Regions from separate parts of the Homo sapiens genome. Here all the other regions are linked to region 5. Evidence: promoter capture Hi-C in human tissues and cell types (Jung and others, 2019). All regions are on one chromosome and are shown on one strand. Each heading gives the region's core, a stretch centred on a gene start or on the middle of the fragment in contact. The rest is flanking DNA. Distances are from core to core; before and after follow the strand shown.

Region 1 (3,558 bases), core at 430-2,929, 620 kb after region 5:
GGCAGATGATCAAGCAGGTCCAGTGTCCCAGAAAGACCTTTTTTTGTTTTTGAGACAAGTCCTGTGCTGTCGCCCAGGCTGGAACCTCAAGAGGCTTGGCTCTGAAGGGAGGAGACAGAGAGAGCAGCAGCAGGAGAAGGGTGTGGGGTAAAAGAATGGGTTGGTTTAAGACAGGAGGAACATAAACAGGACTTTAATGTGTTTTAGAATGAAGAGGATGAGTGAATGAATGTTTGGTGAGAAGCAATTACAGGATATAAAGCAAATAATTAGAATATAGGCACAGTGTTTACTGACTTAAACACTTAACAACAAAATTATATGATAGTGGACTGAATCCTCAGTTTGCAAAACAGAGAATTCAGTTCCATGTGGTGGAGGCAGCATAGTGAGCAGGTTCTGGAGCAAACCTCTGTGGTGCATTCCCAGTTGAGGGTGGCTAAGGGCAAGTGACCTAATCTCTCTACCAGAAATGGAGATAATCACACCCATCTCTCAGGCAACAACAACTGAGCTCAGTTAGAGCGCAACAAATGTCAGCTCTAATCAGCTACTGAAACCTAACATTAAGGGAATAAAACGTATCTGGTGGATACTCACCCAGTCTGCTAAAGGTACAGAAAAATGTGTTCATGTGCTGTTGATTTCTAAACTGCTGAAACTCAGACCAGTCCTCAAGAGCTGGGCCTGTTCCAACTGTGGAAACACTTAGGGTTTGTATTGTTTGGCTACAACGTGGGCAGCAGAGTGTCCATCACGAAGGCCATGTGTGCACAGCCAAGAAAACTCTTTTAGGTTCCTACCTGTCTCTTTCCAGAGCCATCCCTCTGGATTTCAGATGAGATTTCCCTATTAAGGAGGGATGCCAAATGCTGGGGATTTCATAATACTCCCAACCCCAGGCACCAGATTTGTGTAATTGCAGTGGTGGAGATTTAATTGTCCTTTGAAGAGGCCCCATACTGTTTGTCTGTCAAATTGTCTGCATGTTGGTGCAGTTGAAATTATAGGAGAAGAGGAAACCAGGGGTATGTTTCAAAGTAGTTGGCACGTGGTTGGTGATCCATAGTGCAGGTTTCCTTTCTGGAAGGTAACAGGACTGTGTTCTCATAAGGCAGCATGGCAGGGTGGAAGCCATATGGGATTTGCCCTCGAATTTCAGCGCTGCCGTTGAGCAGCTGTATGAACTTGAGCTATTTGCATATCTTCTTGAACTTTTTTGCTCCTCTGTGAATGAAGCCATTGCACCAGCATGTTTTCAGGATTAAGTGAGACAATATGTGGAAGTGCCTGGCACACAGTAGGTGTTCAGTATTTTTTTATTTTCCATTCTCTGTGTCCTTGTTTTGACTACCAGGTAACTATGTTTACCCTCAGAGATCTGATGTATTTCTTCATATCAAGTATATATCAAGAATTTCATCCCTCATCCTAATGCATTAAACTCACTGCATGGAAGTTATACCATTACCTAGACTCACCACGGTCTTGTCAGACACCAGCAGAGTTTTGTGTGGCTGCAATAGAGATGTTATTGCCAGTTGTCAGTATTGAAATGAGGCACTCCTTCATCCTTCAGTGAAATCTGTGCAGGCATTTTCCTTTCTCTGGTTAAACATTTTATAGTCTCCTTTAAAAACAATGCCCTCATTTCATTTCCTCTCTCTGGCTGGACTCTTCTCCTCCCTCCTGCTTTCCTAAAATCCATCTTGTTTCCCTGTATTGTTTGCTGAATGGGCAGTTTAATGAATACAGCATTTCCATTTTGAAATGTACAGAGCACAAGGCAGAAACTGAATTTCCTCCTGGACAGTTTCCATCCACAGTCCTCATTTCCAGTTTTCTCCCTTCTTTTCTTTTCTACAACACAACTGAAATTTGCTGAACCAGAAAGGGGAGGAAGGAGGTGTGACAGGAGAGGCAATATGCCTTCTCATTGTTTCAGCAAAAGCTTATTAGCATCCTGCTCCCTAGAAGAGACCAAGTGCCCTAAAGATGCCCTGGGTGCCTCTTCTATTGCACAAAGCTCAAGGTCCAGAGTATACAGTGCATGACAGAATCTAATTACCAAGATAATTACTGTTACCTGCACTACCTAACTGTTGTGTTTTGTAATCAAAAGCTATATTGGCAGGGGTGAGTGTGAGCCTGCTGAAAACTCAGGGAAACTGTTGAAGGTTTATCAACCCGAAGCAATTTTACTCTAGTTAGTGGGCCTGTGTTGCTCAGTTAGCAGAATGTTTGGGGATCAGAAGAATACCCCAGAGCACTTCAGCCATTGCATAGACATTAGTTACCGGGTAGGAATATCCTCAGCTGACTCAGGTATTCATGTTGTTGAAACCAGACTTCATGGCAATTTGAAAACGTCTGTGCCATTTTTAAATTTGTTCTCGAAATAGTTGATCAGTACCTGACTTAGCCTTCATTTGGCATTCGGTGAAGGAGAAATTGATTTCCTTTGGGCATGGCTGTATGTACCTGATGGGTACAGCGTGTGCTAAGCTGGATGTAGGTATGTATTCATACTATCACCACCTGCTTCATATTCATTATGGCACAAGGTTACAAATTGGCTTTCTGTTTCCCATCTCAGCCAGCTCTAGTTAATTTATGTCTTTACCTCTGTGCTTCACACACTAAAGAAATGGAGTTTCTACTTTAAAAATCAGGTGTATTGAAAAAATGGTTATAATTGTTTTTTTAAATTTTTAAAGAAATTCCAAGTGGAAAACAAGGAATAAGTTGCAAAAGAGTATGAAAAGTTTGGTAATAAAGGCAAGGACACTTAAAAGGAGGGAGTAAAATAACAAAGCAAAATGGGTGAGGCTGACAGGCTATAAATTGAAAAGGGAGAAGGGGTCAAGGAAAATGCAGACAGGAAGAAAAGAGACAGAAAAAGAAATGATAGGGCCTTGAGTAATGGACTCAGAAAAGGAAATAGGAAAAGTTAAGACCAAAGTAAGAATTATGGAGACAAAAGTCAAAGACATCCAGGTCTCAAGAATTACAGGTTATTGGTGGCCTGGGAGGTAGTGAAGAGGGGCTAGGCATATCCCTCATGAAGTTAGATGTCTGAATTCCTCAGGACAGTGTGACAGTCAGGGAGAATGTCCCCTGAATATGCTAATTCAGACTCTAAAATAAGAGCCAGCCAGATTCATTACCATGGTTGGCCAGCCTGTAATGGCAACAGAATTCACTGATGCATATTAAACTGAATTTTTCTAACCAAGGTCTTAAATAAACAGACACCAGCTATAACTGAAAATTAGAATAAGGCCTTCAGTGGTGACTATTTCTGTAGGGAAAGTCTGAAAACCCTTAACATGGTTTTTTTCCAAATTTTTAGAAATTTGTGGTTCTTAAGGCTGCTTAGTATGTTAGCAATTGCTCCAGTGCAGGACTGTGTGGATCCCTCTGGTATTTTCTTTTAACTTTCTGCAAGGCAGAGAGTGTGGCTGACCTGTGATATAAATGAAACCCCGTGGCAGGAACATTAACTCCATCTACAACAAAGGAACATGTAGAGATTTGGATTCTAATGAAAATAATAGA
Region 2 (3,800 bases), core at 1,181-3,680, 760 kb after region 5:
TGTCTCCCACATCTCTCTTACCACACTTATTCTATCTTGAGTTGGATCCCACTGAATGGAATGTTGGATGGACCATCCCTATGATTCTGCCCGGTTTTCTGTGTTTCTATGATTACAAGGGATGTGGCCTGGCCACCATGGATGTTCCAATTGCATGTGATGTTCCAATTGCATTGAATTTGCGTACCAAGTGTATTGTGTACCAGGTGCTGTATTTTGTCTGGGAAATAGAGGGCTCAGTGACCAGTCCCTGTCCTTGAGTGGTGGGACCCTAGGGACAACAGGGCCCCTAACAACATCCATTCACACAAAGGTCCCAGGGTGTGGTTTGGGGATTTTATTTTTAATCTAATTTGGCACCTAGCATATCATGGAGCCACAATCTGCATTCTTAATTTTAAAGCCTATATCTCTTTTATCTCTGTGTACTCCTTAACATTTTTTCTGCTCTAATTCTTATATCTTATACAGTCTTGTTTCCGAGGCCACACAAGCCTCAAGAAAAATAAAGCTCTGGGACTAATTAATAAGGTTGCTGACTCTGGACTCCACCCAATTTTGTTAACAGGCTAACTACCCCTTACCTCACATTCATGTCACATGCCCCACATCTACTTTGTGTCACACGGACACCTCTGTAGGCCCTAAACCACTCCTATATCATGTCAACCATATTTAAATATGCCCATAGCCTTCATTTAGAGACACATAGGCAGAAGAAGAGAGTTACAGAGTTCTATACATACTTATCTATATTATATATTATTCTACATTGTTTTGCTATAAATTTTTTGAAAGGATGTTCAATTTTCATACAATTGAGTTTGTGAAGAATAAATTATTTTATTTTTATGATCCAAGCATTTCATATTTACCTATAGCTATATGAGACCTATACATAATCCATTATTACATGAATGGCCTAATGTTACATTTTGAAAACACCTAATTATTCATTTATTAATTTTGGCTTTGAAATTTTCTTTATGTATTAATAGTTAATAAATATTTTTACAATACCTGAAAAATTTATAGGCATCTGATATGTTGACCTACGAATAAACAACTCTGTTCTTCTCCCTCTACTCCCAGCATTACCTCAGTCAATCCCAAATTCCCTTTGTAATGGATCCCAAAAACTTCCTGCTCCCATATCCTTGCAACTAGCTAGATATTGCTCCTGGGTTCCTATTTCTGTTGCACTGGGTTCAGTGGTTACTTGAGATGACCACACCCCCAGTGAGCTCTTTATTCTCTTAAGGAGTAAGGCTCCCTCTTACGGAGTTTCTATCAAGTTTCCTAACCATTAGGCCACAAGATTACTCTTGTGGCTTCTCCATGTGCCATTTTACCCCCTGCCATAGAACATGTGTCTCAAAAGGGACACCAGGACCTAACTCTCCCCTACACTGGGATGAATTCCTGACCCCCACAGGACAGCCTTCACCTCCTTACCTTGCATCATAAGTCAAGCCCAGCATCTCGTGGTCTGACTCCAAATACCAATGCACTTATTCTCCAAAGAGTCTGGAATCTTACAAATCTGTCTTGGCATCCCAGAGTGACCCCATACTCACCTTCTGATAACACTTTACACCCTCCAAAGAATCTTTATGCAAGATAAAAGATGTTTGACTCAGAAAGATGTTCTCTCCTAAGGATATTTTGACTCCTAAGAATAATACCATTAAAACCAAAATTATGTCATAATGAATACATTTTTGTACTGAAAGGATTTTCTGGAAAAAACTCCATTAAGTCCATTTGACTCCTTGATCAACCTTCTTAAAATAGCCTAGTTAAATCCTCTTTAATTTTTCCCATTTTCATTCATATTTTATTTCACAGAAGTTATTTGATTGGGATTAATTTTTTCCTGTGTCAGTTTTATATAAAGCTTTGATGCATTACTCAATTGGTTTATTTATATCAAATATTATGGTTGTAACTTTTGCCCTTGAAAACTTACTATATAGACATTGTTCTACAAAGTTCAATATTCCCAAGTCAGACTGCACAGATTAGATTTTAACTACTAAAGGCTTTAAATTCTGTTGATCATTTCTACCAGTGATATTCACTATATAAAAAAGCTGAGAATGGTGTCTCTTTCACAGCAAAGCTACACACTCATGTCCTTAGTTAGATCTTCCAGAGTAGGCCTTTCATTTATGGCTGGATTGTAGTACAGCGAGTGAATAAGGCATGAGCTCTGGAATTGAACTGTCTGGGTTAACTTGGGCAAATATTTAATTTCTCAGTTTTCCCATTTGTGAACTGGGGTCAATATTAGTACCTAAACCACAGGGTTCTTGTGAGGATTAAAGCAGAATTCACACAAAGTGCTTCACATAGTACATTGCATGCAGTGTAAGATGTGATAGCTCTTGTTATTACTCCAACCACCTTAAAAATTCTCTGTTATCTATTACTACAGTTAACAAACCAGCCCAAAACCTGATGGCTTAAAATAACAGCAATTTATCACTCAATAATATTTAATTGTATGGGTACAACACATTTTGCTTATCTGTTCATCAGTTAATGGACATTTAGATTGTTTTCACCTTTTGGCTATAGTGAATAGTGCTTCTATGAACATTGCATACATGTATTTGAGTGCAAAAAGAAATGAAGTAGCGATATATGCTACAACATGGATGAACACTGAAGACATTATGCTAAGTGAAGGAAGCCAGTCACAAAAGTGTCTCCATAGAGACAGGAAGCAGATGGGTGGTTGCCAGGAGTTAGAGGGGGCAGGGAATGAGAAGTGACTGCTTACTGGATACAGGGTTTGCTTTTGGAGTGATGAAAACGTTTTAGAACTAGAAAGAGGTGGTGGTTGCACAACATTATAAAGATACTAAATGCCATGAATTGCATACCTTAAAATAGTGAATTTTCTGTTATGGTGTATTTCACCTCAATTTTAAAAATCATCATAACAGCAATTTATTATTTCTCGTGACTCTGTAGGACAGCTGGGAGGCTCTGCTGGCTTCACCTAGGCTCCATTCAGCAGGAGAATTGGCTGGGAGGGCAGGTCCTCTCTTTCACCTGGTCTCTCATCCTCAAGAAGGCCAGTTGGAGCTTCAAGCAAATCCCTGTGAGCAAGCACTTACCAAGTCTCTGCTTGGGTTATGTTAGCTGATGTCACATGGACCAAAACAGGACACATGGCTAGGCCCAGAGTCAGTGTGGAAGAACACTACACAAGGGCATGGTATCAGAAAGTATGATTCATTGGGGGCCATTATTGTGATAATCTCTACAAGCATCATTCTAATCATCTACCCCAACCTGACTTGGTCTGAAATGACTCCTACATCCTGACTAACATGGAATAGAAAGCTTGGGCTGCATGGCTTTAGAAGAGTAAGATGCAAGTCTCAAATGTATTCAGAGTCCTCAGAATGAAAGGAAACTCAGCTTCTTTCAGCATTCCTTTTTTTCCAGAGTTCCCCCCGTATTTAAGTTCAATGTTTTTGATCAGAGACCTCTTGTTATGATGAATTTAATCTGAAACAACTGAATGAAGGGCAGTGGTGATGCAACACAATGATCATCTTCACAGTGTCCAATTGTAAGTGCTCCGGAGTCACCACCCTGACATTCCTGGGGAGTTAGTCCTATCAGAAAGGGCTGGTGGCAGCTCTATTGGGAGGGGCTCCCACAGCCAGAGCTGCCTGGTAGACAGAGTACCCACAGTGCCCTTAAAGACAACTGTTGTTTATGGAAGACACCTGCACCCACTACCTTACTTTAACCCTGCAAGCTGGTACTATCATGATCCCCAT
Region 3 (3,884 bases), core at 953-3,452, 740 kb after region 5:
TCCTAACTTAGTCCTAAACAATCAGTTGGATAAGGAAATAGAGAGCTCTATACTGTCACTGACAGAAAATGTCATGTTGGGTCCCAATCCTCTGTAGGCAATTCAGCTTCTAAAGCAGGATACAAGTAAATTCCCTCAGCCAAGCCCCAAAGAGAGTCAGGGCAGACTGCACCCCAGGGCCTAGTCCTTTGACCACAATGATGCTGATGAGAACCTCATGTGGCCGGGAATGGGGAGGTGGAGGAAAGAGAAGATAGGAGTCGAGGAGGCAGAGCCTCACCAAGCAAGTATGAGATCACTTGGCAGACAAACCAACATTGGAAGGAAAAGGACATTGGCCCTAGTCACAGTCTGCCATTTTGAACTCTGGAAGTTTATTTTAGCTTTTTTTTTTTTTTTTTTAACGTTTTACAGCATGGACAATAAAAAGTAAGAGAACACATTAAGAAGATTCGCCCACACAGAAGTCATCTGTGGAGCCAAAACCAAGACATAGTTGAGATGTTTTGCTTTAATCTGTGCCTGTGAGAGACACTTGCTCTGCAGGCCCCATGGGAGTTGTGGAACAGACTCACCAGATTCCAGGGCTGCCTGAGAGTGTGCCAGTCTATGGCCCCTAGATGCCAGTGTGGCCCTGTCCTTCGGTGCCTCTGGTCGGTGGCTTTTGCCTACAGTTCACTAGGTCAATCCCAAGCCTATCCCTTTTTCCAGATGCAGCTCATGACTCACTCGCTTCCCTGTTTAGAACTTTTTCCCAAGGTGGAGTAGGTTGATGCCAGAGTTGGAGCCCCTCCTCTGCACTCCCATGTCGCCCTCTACTATGGTACTTACCCCCTAGCCATACTTCCTGTTTACCTGTCTGTCTCCCCTGCTGGTTCATGAGCCCCTCATGATCACAGGGGAGGAACCGTCTCTTAAGTGTCGTGCGTCCCCAGAGCATAGCACAGGGCCTGGTGCATAGAGGCATGCAATAAATGGTTGTTGAATGAGTGAATGCCTATATAAATAAATGAATGGGTGACAAAGCTCACTGAGCACATCAGTATGGTGATGTGCTGAACATCAAGACATTCCTTTAAACCTCTCAGCTGGGGTCTAGCCTCTTTAAGTTTGCCCTCACCCCATGTGGAATTCCAGCACCCACTCACCAATCCACATGCACATACAGTGGACAGCAGCAGCATCTTAGGCCTCCAGGGGGCTTCAGAGCCCCTGCTCCTTCTCTCTAGGCTAGTGCCTCTGGTCTCACTGTAACAAGGGCTGGGTCTGCTCACCTGCTCACTATGACCTTAGTGAGCTAGGCCTGCTCAGCGCATGTGGAGGTGGTACGTGCCGTCTATGGAACCATAACAGCCCCATTTTAAAAGGCCAAGTGTTTCTATTTCTTTTGAGCCCAGGATTTTTTCAGAACATTTCCCCCATGAATCAAAATCCCCTATAGTCCATTATAGAAAAATGGACAGCAAATACAAAGATGCTAATGACCTAACCTTACTCTCAGGTCCTTAGTAAAATGACCAGATTCTTAAATTAATTCTTCCCACATGGCCACAAGCATCTCATCTACCTTTCAACAAAAGCAGATGACTCACACTGGTTTACTAACCATAGTAACTACCTACTGACCCACTTTCTGTCACTATATTGTCGCTTTTCATACATTCTCTCTTTTAATTCCCATAACAAACCCATTAGGTGGGTTCTGTTTTGATTCCCATTTTATAGATGAGGAAAATGAAGCTCAGATATTTTAGGTGACTTGCCCACAATCACATAGTTGATAAATGATGAACTTGAGATTTGAAACCATGACTGTTGACCTCTAAGATTTAACCTTATCTGGTTATCTCTTGTTACATAACAAACCATCATCAAAATTTAATGGCTTAAAACAATTTACTATGATCTCTCATGGTTCTGTGGATTGACTGGGTCAGGTGGGAAGTTTTCACCTATAGTCTCTCACGCAGATGCAGTCAGATGGCAGCTGGGGCTGCAGTCACCTGAAAGCTGAACTGGGCTGGATGTCCGAGATGACAAATCATATGGCCACCAGTCAATGTTCACTGAGGACTGGGAGTTCTTCTGGGGCTACTGATTGAGCATTTATATGTAGTCTGTGTGGTTTGTGCTTCTCACAGAATTTAGAATCCACAGGATAGTGGGATTCTAAAAAGGAGTATTCTAAGAGAAAACTTTTCAAGAGATCCAGGCAGGAACTGCAAGGCTTCTAATGCCCTAGTCTCACAAGTCCCAAACTTCACTTCCTGTGTATTCTATTGGTCAAGCAATTCCGCAGGGCCAGCTTGGATTCAAGAGGAGGGAGATAAGACAATAACTCTTAATAGGAAGAGGGTCAAAGAATTTGCAGTCATCTTTGTCACTGTCTGCTCTCTGATTGCATATTATTTACATTCCTCCCACATGGTAAATACACGTGTCTCCTCCTAAGACCCAAAAGTCTCATCCCATTATGGCATCCACTCAAGCTTGAGGTCCAGGATTTTATCATCTAAGTCAGATCTTGATGCAGATGAGCCTCCTTGGGGTATAGTTCCCTGAGTACAGCTCTGTCAATCTGAAGACCTGTTAGATGAAGAGACAAGTTATCTGTCCCACACACATAAATACAGTGGTGATACAGAGATAGGATAACTTCACTAAAGCTTTCATTCGAAAGGGAAAGAAACTGGAGGCACATCGCAGTCACTGATCCATAGCAATTCTAAACTGCTGCCAGGTGCATGTTGCCAGATCCTTGATTAGTGAGTTCCCAGTTGTGCCTCCCTGGGAATGATTGTAGCTCTTGGCTCCCCACTCCTAGTGGGATTTTGATTCTGCTCTCTGAATCATTCTTCCTTTTCCATAAGAAATGGCCATGTTTGCAGCTTAGTAGCCTTCTTGTCCTACTTCCTACCCATATAAGGCTCTCTGCAGTTTGAACTGTCTCTTTCCTGTTTAGTTCAGGCTGATGGTGCTTTCGCATGTACAATTCTCTTAAATTTTTTGTAAGTTTCCTAAAGACTGTTTCAGGTTCACTCCATTAGTCAAATACATACCTACAAATCTCTTTAAGGTATGCCACTTTCTGCCTTGGGCTGACAGTTAGGTGCTATGGAACAATGCCCTTCAGAATTCTTCAAAGTCTGTGAAGTAGACTTTCGCCTCTCCGTGTGGCCTGGGCTTCTTACAGTATGTCACCTTAAAGGTTTCTAAAATCTTAGCAAGCGTCTTAGAGCCATATCTCTGAGATGATCATTACCTTATACCATGTCTTACTTTGAGAACTTTTTTTCCAACTGGAGAGGCTTGGAATGGAAAACAGCTTTATTTCTAAACCCAGCAAGTCTGGCTTCTTATATTCCATCTAAGTTTTGCTTGAAACCGAATAGTTCATTATGGAAGAGGGGAGTTCACTTCCCTATATTCATACTTTACCATACTTGCCTAAGAGAAACCATTAGGCATGTTTAGCATTCTGCCTGGAAGTCTCCTTAGCCAAATCTGCCATTTCCTAGATATATTTTCTGTTTTTCACATTACCAAAAGCAACAGTATACCAAATTATCCATCATTACAAAACAAAGGATGCCTTTTTCCAACTTCCAATAACAATGTCCTCATTTTCCCTCTAGTTCTCAGTAATAGTTTCCTCAGGGACCTCACAGCTTCTTCCTGCTGCTTGGTCCCCAAAGCCAACATCCCACATTTTAAGTTTTCATTATGGCAGCACTCCAGGTACCAAATTCTGTTCTAAGTATCCACAGTTCCACAGAATGCCACCCAAAACATAATTGTTTAAAACTGCAATTTATTATTTATCATGGTTTTATGGGTTGACTTCATTCAGCTGGGTGATTCTTATCTGGGCTTTCTCCTACAGT
Region 4 (3,566 bases), core at 737-3,236, 880 kb after region 5:
GAAAATCAAAGCTCTGGGGGAACAAAGAGATTGGTCACTCAATTCTACTTTAGGAGAATCTGCTCAGACATCACAAAAGAGAAGGCATTTGAGATCACTAGAAGGATGAGTAAAATTGTAATGGTGAAACAAGGGCAGAGAGAATAGTGGAAGCAAAAGCACAAAGCAAAATTCTACACATTCTGAGTTTGTAGAACTCTGAATTGCATGCCGCAGTTGGGACACATTAGAATGGAAGAGGGCCAGAGAGGAAGAGAAAATGGGAAAAGGGGAATGTAGTTATATGAAGGAAGCTGATGAACATTGGGCTCAAGAATTTAACGTTGTGCTGTAGGCAGTGAGAAACCATTGTGGATTTTTGTGTATGGCATGACATGATAAGATCTGTGCTCTAGAAAAATAATTTTGGTGTGAAGAATGGATTGGAGAAAAAAAGAGAGAGCATCCAGTTAGGAATTTACTGCAATACTGGTCCCTGGAAGTGACACTAAGGGTCTGAGCTGCAAGCATTCACATCATTAAACATAAAGGAAAGTAAGAGCAAAGGCAGAGTTCATGAAACATGTTAGATGTGGTGAAAGAGAACTGTTTCAGGCTCCAGCAAGAGACTTTGAAGGGAAGGAAGGAAGAGAGCCCTCTCCAGGTGTAGGCTGGCCACCCAAGAGCAGGAGGCAGTGCCAGGAACCCAGCAGCCAACAGGAAACCCAGTTTCTGGAACAGGCTGAAAAGATGTCACCACAGAGCAAAGTGAAAACTCAGGGAAGTTGCAAAGTGGTCCTGGATCCCAGGAGCGGAATAGATCCTGCTTTTAATTCTTTTCCTTTTTAAACAGAGGGACTCTGGTGCTGTGGCCCCGGGATGGGGTTTCTCATCTCTCCCCCAAGGCCTCAATTGGTCAGTCAGGCTCCTGCTTCCGAGACAGGGGACATGCACATGTCCTGAAGCAGGGGCACAGTGGGGTTTGGGGGTGTGCCTCTCCTCCTGAGCCACATCAGTGCAAGGGGGAGGACCAAGGCCAGCCACACTGGGATAATCGGGGACCAGATAGACACAAAAAACCTGGTTTGTTCCTCCCCGATGTTTCTTCAGTTTCATTGTTCTTAAGTCTGGAGGAAGCAAGCTTCATTTAATTATCTCCAAGATCTCTAGAATGTGCATGCCAAAATCCTTTCTATTTTAAACCCTTCCCGGTTGAGTCTTCTTTGATCCCTAAAAACAACTTTAATTATACAAAGATCTCAATCAACTTGATTAATTTTTAATGTGCATAGAAGACTACAACAAACTTTATTTCCATCGAGCAAAAATACTTTTCAGAAGCCTAAACAGCCTGCCGCTACCTTTGCAATTCACCACCATCATTTTATAACCACTAACTCTGGGGACCCCCCCAACACCAAGATTTTAAAAGTAAGTGCCTGTTTTCTATTTCTTGCCACACCAAGATTCACTCCATAATCCCCCACAACCTGGCCCTCTGGCGGATGAGCAGGGAGCTGGCCAGAGCACAGCTGGGGAGCTTGGCTCCATATGCCTCACCCTGGCAGCTGGGGATGGTGTGGGCTGCTAGGGAAGCTTGTGTCATAATAGCCTCAGTGTCTGAGGAGAACACGCCAGGCAGCAGAGGGCTGAACAAAGGGTCACTTGTATGAGCTGGACCGGGTCTGCTGCTGTTACTGTGACCTGGCTCCCCCAACCATCAGATCCTCCAGCTCTTATTCCATCCCCTTCTCTTTTCTCCCTGGGACTGCTTTAGTGTTGCTCCAGAAATGAGTGCCTCTTCCAAACCCCTGTGGTTCTTAGTGTCAGGGCTGCTTGATCATATCCAGGGCCACCAAGAACAGCAACAACAGAAGCAATGTAAATGTAACAGCTCCTATTGACCGAGTGCTTGCTGTGTATGTGCCACACATGTGTCTTCTCAAGTTATCCTCCCCACAACCCCCAAGGTAAATTTCCCTAGTGTTCACATACTATAGATGAGGAAACTGAGGCTTAGAGAGATCCATTAGCTGGTGCAACATTGCACAGCTGGAAAGTAGTGACTTGAGTCCAGGACTGCCGACTCCAGCCCTGGACCTCGTAATTGCCACTCTACACATCTGAGTTTGTGGAGCTGTGTGTTTCTCCATTTACATTCTCCATGCCACTCACCAAGTCTCAGAGAGGAAAGGGGAAAACATAAGCTACCCTACTATAGGTGCTGAAATTCCATGAACTTTGGGCAGGGTGAGAATTTTGGAAAGACATACAATAGACTGCCTCAATGAGCCAGAGACTAAAATTAGTAGGATAGGGTTAGGATAATAGAAAGACTCCAACAAGATAAAATTTAACAAGGAAAGAGTCCTACCCTGGACTCCACATGGGTAAATCCAGATGCCTGGCAGAACATCATGTGAGAAACATGAAAGGGTTTAGACAACACTGGTACTTGAAACATTACTAATAATTATAATAATTATAATTCTAATACCAGCACTGTGCTATGTGCTTTTGTTGAATTAATAACTTGATTCCCACTTAAAACAAATATATAACATTATAATGGTAGGGTCTTTAGTAGTCCTCATTTACAGAGGAGGAAGCTGAGACTCCAAAAGCTCTTAAAATGATTTCCCGCAGTCCCTCATCAGTAAATACTGGAGCCAAGATTAGAACCCATGCAGTCAGATTTAAAATTCTGCTCTGGCACCCTCTGAGCTGTACACAGGTCCACTCAATAACCTGGTGCCATTGTAGACTGCATGCACTGCAGTTTCTAGAATGAGGCAAGTGCATTCCACACTTCCCTGTGCCACACCAAGCCACAGATAGGGTATCGCCACATCCAACCCGGGAAGCCATGCTTTAAATAAAGATGATCAAGTCTGAAGCATTCAGGACAGCAAAGGAACCTGAACTACATCCCATAAGGAAAGTTAAAGGAATTGGCCATACTTCCTTGAAGAAGACACTTCTTCAGATTCTTTCAGTATACTGGGAGGACTTGCTGGTGCAAAGGGACTGTATTTATTTTAGATGGCCTTAGGGGTGGAGCTAGGACCAGAGGTTGGAAGTAGCAAGGAGACAGCCTTCTGCTCAGCAGTCTAGCATCACTGGCAAATGCGGGAGGGACAGAGATGGCCCTTCACTGGCTTTCACAAGCCAGGCCACCACATGGCAGAATGTTGTCACGGGGGCTCCAAGCAGCAGAATGTAGCTGGCAAGATGACAGTAGCAGACCATGTGTGCAATGATTCTCCCATCTCTGGGGATGCTCTGTCCAACACCTCTCAACTCACAGAGACACCCCGCCTGTAACTGTTACCAAACAAAGGGGCTCCTGCTAGAAGCCAATACTAAGACACCAGGTTTCTGAGAAAAGAAAAGCTTTTTGTTGTAAGTCAGTTCCCAAGAAGACAGGAGTCCAGCTCAAATCTATCTCCCTGTGCTGGATTTAAAGCAGTAATTTTATTAGAAAAGGCATAGGGAATGGATCCCGGGATTAGCAATTGATTGGTGGAAGGAAAGGGGGTCTGGGAAGTCCTCAGTCATGCAGTTATCTCCTCATGCTGCCTCATGGG
Region 5 (3,629 bases), core at 698-3,197:
GCAGGCAGATCACTTGAGCCCAAGAGTTTGAGACCAGCCTGGGCAACAATGGAAAACCCTGTCTCTATAAAAAACACAAAAATTAGCTGGTGTGGTGGCCTGTGCCTGTAGTCCCAGCTACTTGGTAAGCTGAGGTGGGAGGACTGCTTGAGCCTGAGAGGTAGAGGCTACAGTGCAGGCCACTGCACTCCAGCCTGGGCAAGAATGAGACCCTGTCTCAAAAAAAAAAAAAAAAAAAAAAAAGGCTGTGGTTCATTCTTTCAAAAGCTAAGTGGAGCCCACATTGGCACAGATGCCAGCTACAGTGTCTGTGGAATCAGAAGCATCATCTGATGTTACAACTTCTGGCCTATTGCTCTTTTTCTTCTTTCTCCTTTGCCTACTCTTCTATTTCTCCATATTACCTTTTTGTTGGCCAATGCCTTAGACTTGCTCATGAGCATTTGTAGGTTTGGTAGCTGGCACACAAAACCAAAGGAATAAGTGTCTCCAAGTTTGAGTTGTAATTCTCCAGTTAAATTTCTTTCTTTGAGATTTATTACAGTAATAGGTTACTAAGACATTTAATTCTCACTGAGGGTATGACTGTATTTTATTCTAATACTGAGTTGAAAAATTACCATGGCCTCATATCTATATATCTACATTGGTGTATTTTAAAGGCTCACAACTCTTATACGGTATAAATTGAGCTTTAGAGCAAAATTTATTCAAGATAATATTTATCATGTGTCTTTATGTACCAGGAATGAGAATACAATGGTGAACAGACAGAAAAGTCTCTGGTTTCCTGTAGTGGGCATTCCAGGAGCAGAATGGCGTCATAATTCATTTACTCTATAAGTCAGAGAGAAAAATGATGGCACGAACTGCAAGGGATTTGTGTGTAAAATTTGTGACAGTAAGAAAAAGAAACTGGAAGGGAATACGCATTTGCCATGTTCTATAATATGCCACAGACATTGTAACAAAATATTTCATGTCAGCTACTTCCATTTAGGAAATACATGTTCATTATTTTCTTCAAACTAAGAATTACTTTATCCCTCTTTTCTTTGAAGTTATCTTAAATCTGTTATTATTCAGGGTCTCTATCCAACTTCTCATCAAATTACCCTATTTGTAGCTTCCAAACGTTAACACCTATCTGCTAAAATGGAGCCTATAAAAAGCCTTAGTGGCATAAACTGTGTGTGAGGGAGAAATGGTATTTAAGCCCTTAATGAAGTTAGGAGCTTTCAAACTGTTGCACTTTGGGTTTACAGGATCCTTCCTCCATGTCCCTTTTTTGGGGGTGCGGAAGGATTTGGGAGAATGGGAAACACTCTCACTATATATTTATTACATTAATTATCTTCTCTTTTAAAATGCAATTTTCATGAACTGGCGATTTATGAACACTTCACATTGCTTGAAAGCATCTTACACTTTTTTTTTCCCTCAACTCACAAAGCAGTTTCTTTCTACTGGTCGAATTCTCAAGGCAGAAAAGCTACATACGTCTCTCGTTTCTTCACTAATTGTTCTCTAGAAAAGGGAAAGTGAAGAAGGGAAAGAGAAAAGACAACGGGGAAGAAAAGAGCATAGAGGAGAGAGGAAAAGTGGGGAGAGAAAGGAAGAAAAGGACTGAGAAAACGCAGGAGCCCTGGCTTGCCGGTGAGCAGAGCCGGCGCAGCCACAGCGCGGAGCCGCGGCGCCCACTGGTCCTCGGAGCTGCCAATCGGCGTGTAATCCTGTAGGAATTTCTCCCGGGTTTATCTGGGAGTCACACTGCCGCCTCCTCTCCCCAGTCGCCCAGGGGAGCCCGGAGAAGCAGGCTCAGGAGGGAGGGAGCCAGAGGAAAAGAAGAGGAGGAGAAGGAGGAGGACCCGGGGAGGGAGGCGCGGCGCGGGAGGAGGAGGGGCGCAGCCGCGGAGCCAGTGGCCCCGCTTGGACGCGCTGCTCTCCAGATACCCCCGGAGCTCCAGCCGCGCGGATCGCGCGCTCCCGCCGCTCTGCCCCTAAACTTCTGCCGTAGCTCCCTTTCAAGCCAGCGAATTTATTCCTTAAAACCAGAAACTGAACCTCGGCACGGGAAAGGAGTCCGCGGAGGAGCAAAACCACAGCAGAGCAAGAAGAGCTTCAGAGAGCAGCCTTCCCGGAGCACCAACTCCGTGTCGGGAGTGCAGAAACCAACAAGTGAGAGGGCGCCGCGTTCCCGGGGCGCAGCTGCGGGCGGCGGGAGCAGGCGCAGGAGGAGGAAGCGAGCGCCCCCGAGCCCCGAGCCCGAGTCCCCGAGCCTGAGCCGCAATCGCTGCGGTACTCTGCTCCGGATTCGTGTGCGCGGGCTGCGCCGAGCGCTGGGCAGGAGGCTTCGTTTTGCCCTGGTTGCAAGCAGCGGCTGGGAGCAGCCGGTCCCTGGGGAATATGCGGCGCGCGTGGATCCTGCTCACCTTGGGCTTGGTGGCCTGCGTGTCGGCGGAGTCGGTGAGTGGGCCAGGCGGAGGATGCGCGCGCCGTTTAGGGTGTTTGAAGCTACGAGAGGAGCCCGCAGGGAATAGGGGAGCGCCACCTGGGGAACCCCCAGTCCCCAAGTATACACCGGAGATCCGCTGGGACAAATGCGCTCGTCCGGTCACCCTTTCCCCCTCTTCCCTTCCTCAGAAAAGCGCTGCTCGCTGGCGTTACCCCGCGGTCCGCGGGAATGGGGGCACCGAGAATTGCGGTTTGGTCTAGCCGCAGAGGCCCCTGAAGTCACTCCCAACTTCTTCGCCCTCGGCGGGTCTTGCTGCGTGGTCTGGGAAGGACGGAGGGGAAAGGGTGGCAGGAGGGGGGAGCCTGGGTCGGGCCCGCGAGGGAACGGCTCCACTCCGCGCGCTCCTCGAGACCAGGGATGACCTGGAAACTTCGGGGTCCCTTCCTCCGCACACCATCCCCCCCGCGCCAGCTTTCCTGTTTGACTGCATGCAAGTTCTGGGGAGATGGGGGCCAGATTTAAGAGACCCGCGAGTGTCCAGAGAGAAAAGTTTGCAAAAGTTCTTTTGTTTGATGCTCCCTGCGGCTAGGGCGAGGTAACCGACACTACGTGGAATCGCAGTAGGCGATCCCTCAAGGGGATACTGGGGGAGGCACGGAACGCGTCCGAAAATGCTGGGACGCCGGCCACTGGATTCCCAGTCCTGCGGCGACCCCCTCCTCGTTGAGGGGTGGAGGTTGCACCGCGGGGCGTCAGGGACGGGAGGACATTTTCATAGGAGTTACACGGGAGTGCCGCAAGCAGGGCGAGGCGGGGTACGTGTGACACGGCGCTCGGCTTCGGGTCGCCTGGCCGCTGGGGGACAGAGGCTTCCCTCCCGCCACGCTCGCCCTCTCTGGCCCTGGCGGGGCGCTTCTGGGGCCGGGAGGAGTCTCGTCTCCGGCGGAGCGCCTGCCGGCACCCAGCTTCCCTCCCCCGCCCTGGCGGTGGGAACTTGATTTCTCCTTTTGGTCGCGCTTCGGGGGCTGGAGCTTGTTTCCCCACGTCGCCCAATGAGCGCCCTCTAAAGGGAACTGCCTCCTTGGCCTCCTCTCGTCCGCAGCTGCCTCCACCTGGGCGCCAGGAGCTCTGTCGGGCCAGGTGGAAGCTTGAGCACCCCAGATTTCGTCTGCAG
Region 6 (3,906 bases), core at 379-2,878, 600 kb after region 5:
ACTAAAAACAAACAATCCCATTAAAAAGTGGGCAAAAGACATGAACAGACACTTCTCAAACGAAGACAGACAAGCAGCCAACAAACATATGAAAAAATGCTCAACATCATTAATCATCAGAGAAATGCAAATCAAAACCACAATGAGATACCGTCTCACACCAGTCAGAGTGGCTATTACTACAATGTCAAAAAATAACAGATGCTGGCAAAGTTGCAGAGAAAAAAGAATACTTACACACTGCTGGTGGGAATGTAAATTAGTTCAGCCACTGTGGAAAGTACTTTTGGAGATTTTTCAAAGAACTTAAAACAGGACCTACCACTTGACCCAGCAAATGCTGTGTGTATACTCAGAGGAACATAAATTGTTCTACCATAAAGACACATGCTCACATATTTTCATCGCAGCACTATTCACAATAGCAAAACATGGAATTAACCCAAATGCCTTTCAATGGTAGAGTGGATAAAGAAAATACATTCATTACCTGGGTGACAAAATAATTTATAAACCAAACCCCAATGACACACAATTTACCCATGTAACAAACCTGCATATATACCCCCTAAACCAAAAATAAAAGTTGGATAGAAAAAAGAAAGAGGTGTGAGAAAAGACCCCACTGTGACACATAAGTGGCATAGATAACAGTGGAGATTCACTCACATTTGTTGAGTATTACCTAGACAGTGGAGATTCACTCACATTTGATGCGTATTACCTAGACAAGGAGGACAATGGCCCCTCTTCCTTTCTGTATTCTTTGTAAAGGGTAGGCCTTCTGAGAGGTTAAACCACCAATCAGAATTTGAAATCTTTAAAGTAATCAATTTATCCGCTATTCATTTGCCTTCTACTTTAAATCTAAAGTTTTGTCACAGCCAATATTTATAGTCTCTGACATCACTGGGATCAGAATGGAAATACTAAAATCTGTTTTGTGGTATCCTAAATTCACTGAATTAGTATTTATTGTAGGACTCCCATAGGGTGTGAGTCTTTACAAATAAAGGTAGGGAATGCCCTTTATTTGTAAGGGCAAATAAGTTCCTCCTTCTCTTGTCAAGGGGATGTGAAAACCTCCTTGCACATTTTTTCTTTTCTTTTTTTCTCTTTGCAGAATGAGTGTTCTGAGAAGAACAAAACTCTTTTCTGACAACTCTTATAAAACACTTTTGTGTTTGATTCTCCAACGACTAAGATTTGGACACACAATTCTCCATTCATTTCTCAAGTGTCAAGAAAGAATTGAGTTTAAAGGCTCCAATTCCCTTGCAGGTTACACTGTCTATCTAGATGAATTAGTATTCAGCACAGCTTTGGGAAAATCTCAAATGATTTGCAGGTTTGCAAATTGTTCAAACTCATAATGAAATTTCAGGCTGAGGAAATCACTAAACAGTTCATGGCATGAGTTTTTCCCTCTGAGATCTGGACATCTTAGATCAATTCACTCCTCTACCTTCGCTGCCCCATCCATGCCAGACAGCCCAGGGCTGCTTGAGAAAGTCACACACACCTGTCACCACTGAGGTTATTCTCCTATCCCCATGTCCTCCCCTGCTCAGCAAACCAGCCCACTCTCCATCCATTTTCATTCTTTATTTTCTGTTCCTATAGCATGTGTTCCTCTTCTTATCCAGGGCTATGTTCTGAGTCCGGTCCCCCTCTATGCCCTCAAGCAACTCAAACTGGCAATTATTTATATCCTATTGCTTCAATTCTCTCTCTTCTCTAAACTTTTCCCATCAGAATATAAATATTTCAAGTATTCGCCATTAAAATATATATATATATACAGCTTTACCCAACTTTATGAACCTCCAGCTCTTTCTTTTCTTTGCAGCCAAGCTTTTTGTCCTCTCACTCATTCCTCCTTCCAGTGCATCCTGAATTCCACTTGGAACTGTCCACCAGGATTACCTTCCCAAGGACACAAAGGTCCTCCTTTTGGCCAAATTGAACTGGTGCATTCTAGTCCTTTTCTTGTTTGATTTTTCTGAAGCATTGACATAGTTGACCACCACTTACATCTTGAAACTCTGTATGTCCTTAGCTTCTCTTAACTCCTCTTTTCATTCCTTTTTCGCTTCCCTTCCTTGTGCCAGTCCCTTACGTGTTAGTATATGCTAGGATCTCATCCTTGGACTCTATTTATTCAGGTCACTGTTCCTGGAAGATAACTCTATAGATTCTCAAATCTATATCTACAGATTTTGGAAGCCATGTGGCCAATGTTACCACTTGGGTATCCTGTAGGTATTTAAATTCAACATGTCTGAAGCCAAACTTCTATCTCACCCTTACCACAACCCATCTCTAGGAATAGAAATTATCGTCCAAGTCGCTCAAACCTGAAAACTTGGCATTGACTTAGACTTATTTTCCTCATTCACTCTCCCTTATTCAGTCAATCCTTAAGATAATGCCATTTCTACCCTTTAAATGTAGCCTCTCCTTTATTCATTGTACTGCTGCCTTAGTTAAGGCACTCAAAATTCCTCATTACTGCATTGCTCCCAGTTGTCTTCCCAAAATGTGGCTTCCCATTCTTTCAAGGCCAACTCTTGAGCATGACATATTGGTATATAAAGGCCTACATGACTTGACACTTGCCAAACTCTCCAGCCTGGTCTCTCATGGGTTTTTCATGTGGACTTAACTCTGGCCATAGCATCCTGCTGGAAATTATTTAAAAACACCAAATTATTTCACAATTCCTTATTTCATATGCTATTATTCCCTTTGCTACTTATCTTTTAAGGCTTAGCACAGAGAGCGTCTTAACACATATTACTCAAGAGATGTTAGCAATCACTATTGTTGTTTTTGTTGTCATGTCTCCCTTTAGTATCTAAGGCTGTTTGGTACTCCTCCTCTGTTTTCATAGTAAACTTAAAACATAGCCTTAATCATACTATATCATAGTTGGCTACTTGTTTTTCTTGTCACCAAATTCTGAATTTTACTTTTCTCACTTACATTGCCTTCCTGGAACCTAAAAGCATTTGGGCTTGTTATTTCTGTTTAAAATAACAAAGACCATCAACAAATTTCCAGTGAAATTATAGTTGTGGTGGGGATGATGATGATGATGATGATGATGATAGCTACATTTATTGAACTCTATGTCCTAGGCACTTGCTAAATGTTTTTAAATGTTTTCCATTATAATCTTATTAATGATTTCATTTAATGGGTAAGGAAACTAACACTGAGAGAGGTAAGTACCTTGGCCAATTCATATAAGTTATGAGTGGTAGAGCCAGGATTTAAGCACATAGAGTAGTATTCCAGAGACCAAAAAATAAAGAAATCATTATCTATGTCCTGATACTAACCTTATCCTTATTACTTTATGAGAAAGAGAGCCTGGAAAGTCAATTCAAAATATTTGTTACATGTCTACTTTATGTTGGATTGAATTAGGTCTTTGAATAAAACAGCTCTTCTTTGAACTTTATCTCCTAGAAAGGGAAATAAGATATGAACCTCCCTAAATAACTAGGCAAAATATTATAAATGCTAAAACGTACAACTACTATAAAAATGGAAAGAGAGAAAGTTTAAACTGGTTGAGGAAAACTCAGGAAAGTCATCTTGGAGAAGGCGGCATTTGATATGTGCCTGAACAGTTGAGTCCTAATGCGTGAAGATGGCAGAGGATTGAAGAGTGCATGAGATTTGAAGGGTACTTGTAAGGAATGGAACAACCACCTCTTATTACTCTGCTTTATGGCAAAGGAGTAAGATGAAGGCAAGAGGCCTTCATAGAGCTTTCTCCCTGCAGAGAGGGGAAGAGTATAGTCCCTCATGACTCAGAATCTCTTGGTTGCTGCCATGCAGGCATCTATGGAATCACAAAAGCAAGGCCCAGGAAACTTTAAACTAACCTATGCTTCC
Region 7 (3,841 bases), core at 1,322-3,821, 900 kb after region 5:
AACCACACTCTAGTGAAATTAGAGCAAAGCAGGGAAAAAATAGAAAAAGACACCTGATCTTCTGAGAATTCCTGAACTACAGGAAGGAAGGGCTTTGTTTGCTCACTGCTTGATATGATTTGGATCTGTGTCCCCAACCAAATCTTATATCAATCTAATCCCCATTATTGAAGGTGGGGCCTGGTGGGAGGTGATTGAATCATGGGAACAGTTTCTCATGAATGGTTTAACACCATTCCGCTAGCCGCTGTTCTTGTGATAATGAGTTCTCATGAGATCTGGTTGTTTAAAAGTGTATAGCACCTCCCCACTCTCTCTTCCTCCTGTGCTGGCGGTGTGAAGATGCCTCGCTCCCGCTTCTACCATGATTGAAAGCTCCCTGAGGCCTCCCTAGAAGCATAAGCCACTCTGCTTCCGTAAGGCCTGCAGAACCATGAGCCACTTAAACCTCTTTTCTTTACAAATTACTCAGTCTCAGGTATTTCTTTATAGTATTGCAAGAGTGGACTAATATACTGCCGTATCCCCAGAACCCCGACCGCTGAACACAGAACAGATGAGGGGCTCAGAATTAATTGCAGGGTAAATAAATGAATGGAGTTTCAAATTCTATCTCTAACCATTAATTTTTTTTCTTTTCTTTTTTTTTTTTTTTAAACCGTGTCTCACTCTCGTTCTGTCACCCAGGCTGGAGTGCAGTGGTGCGATCTCGGCTCACTGCAAGCTCCCTTTCCCAGGTTCATGCCATTCTCCCGCCTCAGCCTCCCGAGTAGCTGGGACTACAGGCGCCCGCCACCACACCTGGCTAATTTTTTTGTATTTTTAGTAGAGATGGGGTTTCACCATGTTAGCCAGGATGGTCTCGATCTCCTGACCTTGTGATCCGGCCGCCTCGGCCTCCCAAAGTGCTGGGATTATAGGTGTGATCCACCACGCCCGGCCACCTCTAACCTTTAATTTCTTAGCAACAGGAGCAATAGTAAAGGTTTTCGTATGTAGCTCACCAAGCACATGCACATCCGTTACCTGATTCAAGCCTAACAACAGTCCCATGAGTTTAGAGTTACTGTCATCCCCCTTCAGTGAGTACCTACTATGTATGGAGTACCAGGACATAAGCCCAGTGGTATGAAGAAGCATAACCATGCTACCCATTCATTCATCCATTCAACAGGTATTTATTTATTGAGCACCTGATAAATTCCAAATACTGTTCTGGGTTCCAGGAATTGAACAATGAACATGAGGGCAATCTCTGCCCTCATGGAGTTTTAAGACTAGTGGAGAAGGCAGAAAAACAGATATGAAAATATATTTACAGTATAATGCAAAGGAAAAATACATGTTATTGAAAATAGTAAAGTAGGAGGGAAATGAGGGTTATTGCTCTATCTAGGGTGCTCATATTTGAGCAGAGCCCAGGATGATGTGTGCAGGAAGGAAAGCCAAGCACATGCCTGGATGGCAGGGGGAGGCAGCGGGAGAGTGGTGCACCGGCACAGGCAGGTGTGTACGAAGCTCCCCTAAAGAACAGCCAAGACAGGGATGGCCAGAGTTCAGCCTGATGGAGGGAAAGAGTTGTCAGGCTGCAGCCCTGTTCAATAGCCCACAAGATGACTCTGTGAAAACTTGAAAAAGATATTGCTTCCCCTAAACACCTTATTTCAACTGCCAGAAAATTGCCTGGCGTTGTGCCCCTGCCATTGTGCACAGCTAAAGAAGAGAAATTCAAGAAAGAACCCAGGCATAGTCCAGAAGAGAAGGATCCAGTGAATGAAACCGGGACAGAATGGGCAGGGTGGGAACCAGGGGAGTGTAGTATCCTACAAGCCAAGTGAAGGATGCCTCAAGAAGGAAGGAGATGGGTGGGATGCTACTCATCAGTTGAGATAAAAACTCAGAGATTTCCAATAGATGGTCATTGCAGACCTGGAGTTTAGGTGGAGTAGTGAGGACCCAAATCTGATGGAATGGATTAAAGAGAGAACAAAAAGTGAGGAAATTGAGGCAGCTACCAGAGACAACTCCCATAGTTTAGAATAATATTAGAAATAAAGGGGGGAAATGGGGCTGAGCAGGATGTGAGGTTAAAGATAAGTGGTACTGCAGAGTGTTTAAATTTCACTGGAATGACACAGTAGAGAGAGATAGGTGATGCAGAAGGAAGCAAGAAGAGCGGGAATAAAGTGCTGGAGTAGGCGAGAGCAGAAGGGATCCAGCATGCAGGGGGAAAGCCAGCCCTAGGTAGGAACAAGGACTTCTCATTCAAGCAACAGAAGTAGAGATGCAGGAAGGATCGTAGATCTTGTAGTTGAAGCCTACCAAAATTCTCTTTCAATTGCTTTCATTTTCTCAGTGACATAAGAAGCAAGTTTATGAGTGGAGCAGAGAGACCATTGCTGGTCTGAGGAAAGAGAAGACAGGAGTGAAATCACTCTTTGGGAAAGTGGGGATGGATTGACAAGGTGAGTGAAGCCCCTCTGCCAGGAAGGGCTGAGTGCCTACTTCAAGTCCAAGGTCAGGAGTTTAAAGTGAGGCCAATTGACAAGGGTGTGTGCTCTTCACAAGCCATAGGGAGCTTCTTGGGTGAAGGAGGAGAATAGTCCAAGTTGGATTTAACCAGGATTGAAGCTTTGCCAATAAGTACAAAGAAAGATGAGATGAACAAGGGAGGTGAGTGGCATGCAAGAAAATGTATGCAAGCCAGTTCATGAAATCTCAGCTGGATAACGGGGAAAGAGATTGACAGAGAAAAGGAATAAGGTGGATTGGCAGTCTCAGAGGCCCCAAAGAATTGCTGGAGTTGGGATACCAAAGGGAACAGGCTAGAATAGAAAGACAGGATGATCAGAGAGCACATGAAGTGAAGTGGAGACTTTGAGGTGGTGAGGGAATGGTTAATAAAAGTCTAGGGTATGGCCCTGGAATAAAAGACTGACATGGTCCAAGGATAAAATCCTTGCAACTGAGAGGCCAAGTGTTGGATGAATTATCTATGTGGATATTCAGAATACTGAAAATAATGACATAAGTGGCAGTGGAAAGACTGAAATCCAGGTGCTAAAATTCTCAATAAATGAGGGACATGCGGAGGAGGAGCGTAGGTGACACAAAAGGAGGGTGTGGGATATGGCGGAGCCCGGTGGCATGTGCTTCCGATGCACTGCAATTCTTTACAGTGGGTGCAACAAAGGTCTGGAAACAGCAGGGAGAATCAGGGATATCTCACCTGCCTCCAGGCTCTAGATGTGAAGACGGCAGGAGAGAAAAGAAAAGGAAGGAAGCACCACTTGAATGGGCTGCAAAAAGATGAAGAAAGTGTTCAGAAAACAATTTGAGACTAACAGGATTTTGCTGATGACCGTCTGGGAGCCCAGAAAGCTTAGTGCACAGGTTTGAGGACTGGGAAGAGTCAAAGCTTGAGTTAGAGAAGGGGCTGTAAAGGCAGCAAGAGAGGGAACAACATGGGTTGGCCTGAGATGCTGGGTCACTCACAGTGTCCAGGTGAATAGGCCATTCTTGGGTAGGGCACAATGGGAAATGAGACCTAGTGGGTGATTATTCCTAGATGCTGCCTCTTTAGGGACTGGCCTGGGAGTGCTGAGTGTTGAGAGAGAGGAATTGAACGTCTTTCCAGAAGCACTAATGGACACCAAAGCGTTTTGCACTAATGGACACCAAAGCGTTTTACTTCTGATCTAACTTGTTCAGGTTCCCTTATTCCTGATTTCTCTTTGCTGGCTGGGTCCTGATTTCCTGGCCCGATTAAGCCAGTGTGAGCTTCTGAGCATTCTGCTACTTGGATCAACATCCAAACCTGAGCTCATCTCTGCACTAGTGA

What was found. Contacts are between HindIII fragments. The study calls those that stand out against the background at their distance.
Region 1: a fragment that was not itself captured here is called in contact with the fragment with the promoter of SDC2 in region 5 in 2 of the 25 tissues and cell types used here (dorsolateral prefrontal cortex and spleen).
Region 2: a contact is called between a fragment that was not itself captured here and the fragment with the promoter of SDC2 in region 5, in 2 of the 25 tissues and cell types used here (dorsolateral prefrontal cortex and mesenchymal stem cells).
Region 3: a contact is called between a fragment that was not itself captured here and the fragment with the promoter of SDC2 in region 5, in 1 of the 25 tissues and cell types used here (H1 embryonic stem cells).
Region 4: a contact is called between a fragment that was not itself captured here and the fragment with the promoter of SDC2 in region 5, in 2 of the 25 tissues and cell types used here (bladder and spleen).
Region 6: a contact is called between a fragment that was not itself captured here and the fragment with the promoter of SDC2 in region 5, in 1 of the 25 tissues and cell types used here (spleen).
Region 7: a contact is called between a fragment that was not itself captured here and the fragment with the promoter of SDC2 in region 5, in 2 of the 25 tissues and cell types used here (H1 embryonic stem cells and dorsolateral prefrontal cortex).

Annotation. Positions count from the first base shown.
Region 1 is chr8:97,113,187-97,116,744 of GRCh38, forward strand. All of the region lies in intron 7 of CPQ (carboxypeptidase Q), which reads left to right. All of the region lies in intron 2 of LOC101927066 (a long non-coding RNA gene), which reads right to left. Among named protein-coding and RNA genes, the nearest start is that of TSPYL5, 160 kb to the right of the region's middle. The HindIII fragment of the contact is 5,761 bases long and covers 1-3,558 here.
Region 2 is chr8:97,253,939-97,257,738 of GRCh38, forward strand. All of the region lies in intron 2 of LOC101927066 (a long non-coding RNA gene), which reads right to left. Among named protein-coding and RNA genes, the nearest start is that of TSPYL5, 22 kb to the right of the region's middle. The HindIII fragment of the contact is 3,214 bases long and covers 824-3,800 here.
Region 3 is chr8:97,233,973-97,237,856 of GRCh38, forward strand. All of the region lies in intron 2 of LOC101927066 (a long non-coding RNA gene), which reads right to left. Among named protein-coding and RNA genes, the nearest start is that of TSPYL5, 42 kb to the right of the region's middle. The HindIII fragment of the contact is 3,307 bases long and covers 550-3,856 here.
Region 4 is chr8:97,374,315-97,377,880 of GRCh38, forward strand. The region is part of intron 2 of LOC101927066 (a long non-coding RNA gene); the gene reads right to left. Among named protein-coding and RNA genes, the nearest start is that of SNORD3H, 18 kb to the left of the region's middle. The HindIII fragment of the contact is 4,443 bases long and covers 1-3,566 here.
Region 5 is chr8:96,491,866-96,495,494 of GRCh38, forward strand. SDC2 (syndecan 2) reads left to right here and starts at 1,948. Exons shown (of 5, transcript NM_002998.4): 1 at 1,948-2,466. The coding sequence starts at 2,407. The HindIII fragment of the contact is 18,592 bases long and covers 1-3,629 here.
Region 6 is chr8:97,092,971-97,096,876 of GRCh38, forward strand. All of the region lies in intron 7 of CPQ (carboxypeptidase Q), which reads left to right. All of the region lies in intron 2 of LOC101927066 (a long non-coding RNA gene), which reads right to left. Among named protein-coding and RNA genes, the nearest start is that of TSPYL5, 180 kb to the right of the region's middle. The HindIII fragment of the contact is 3,142 bases long and covers 58-3,199 here.
Region 7 is chr8:97,391,653-97,395,493 of GRCh38, forward strand. The region is part of intron 2 of LOC101927066 (a long non-coding RNA gene); the gene reads right to left. Among named protein-coding and RNA genes, the nearest start is that of SNORD3H, 35 kb to the left of the region's middle. The HindIII fragment of the contact is 4,267 bases long and covers 439-3,841 here.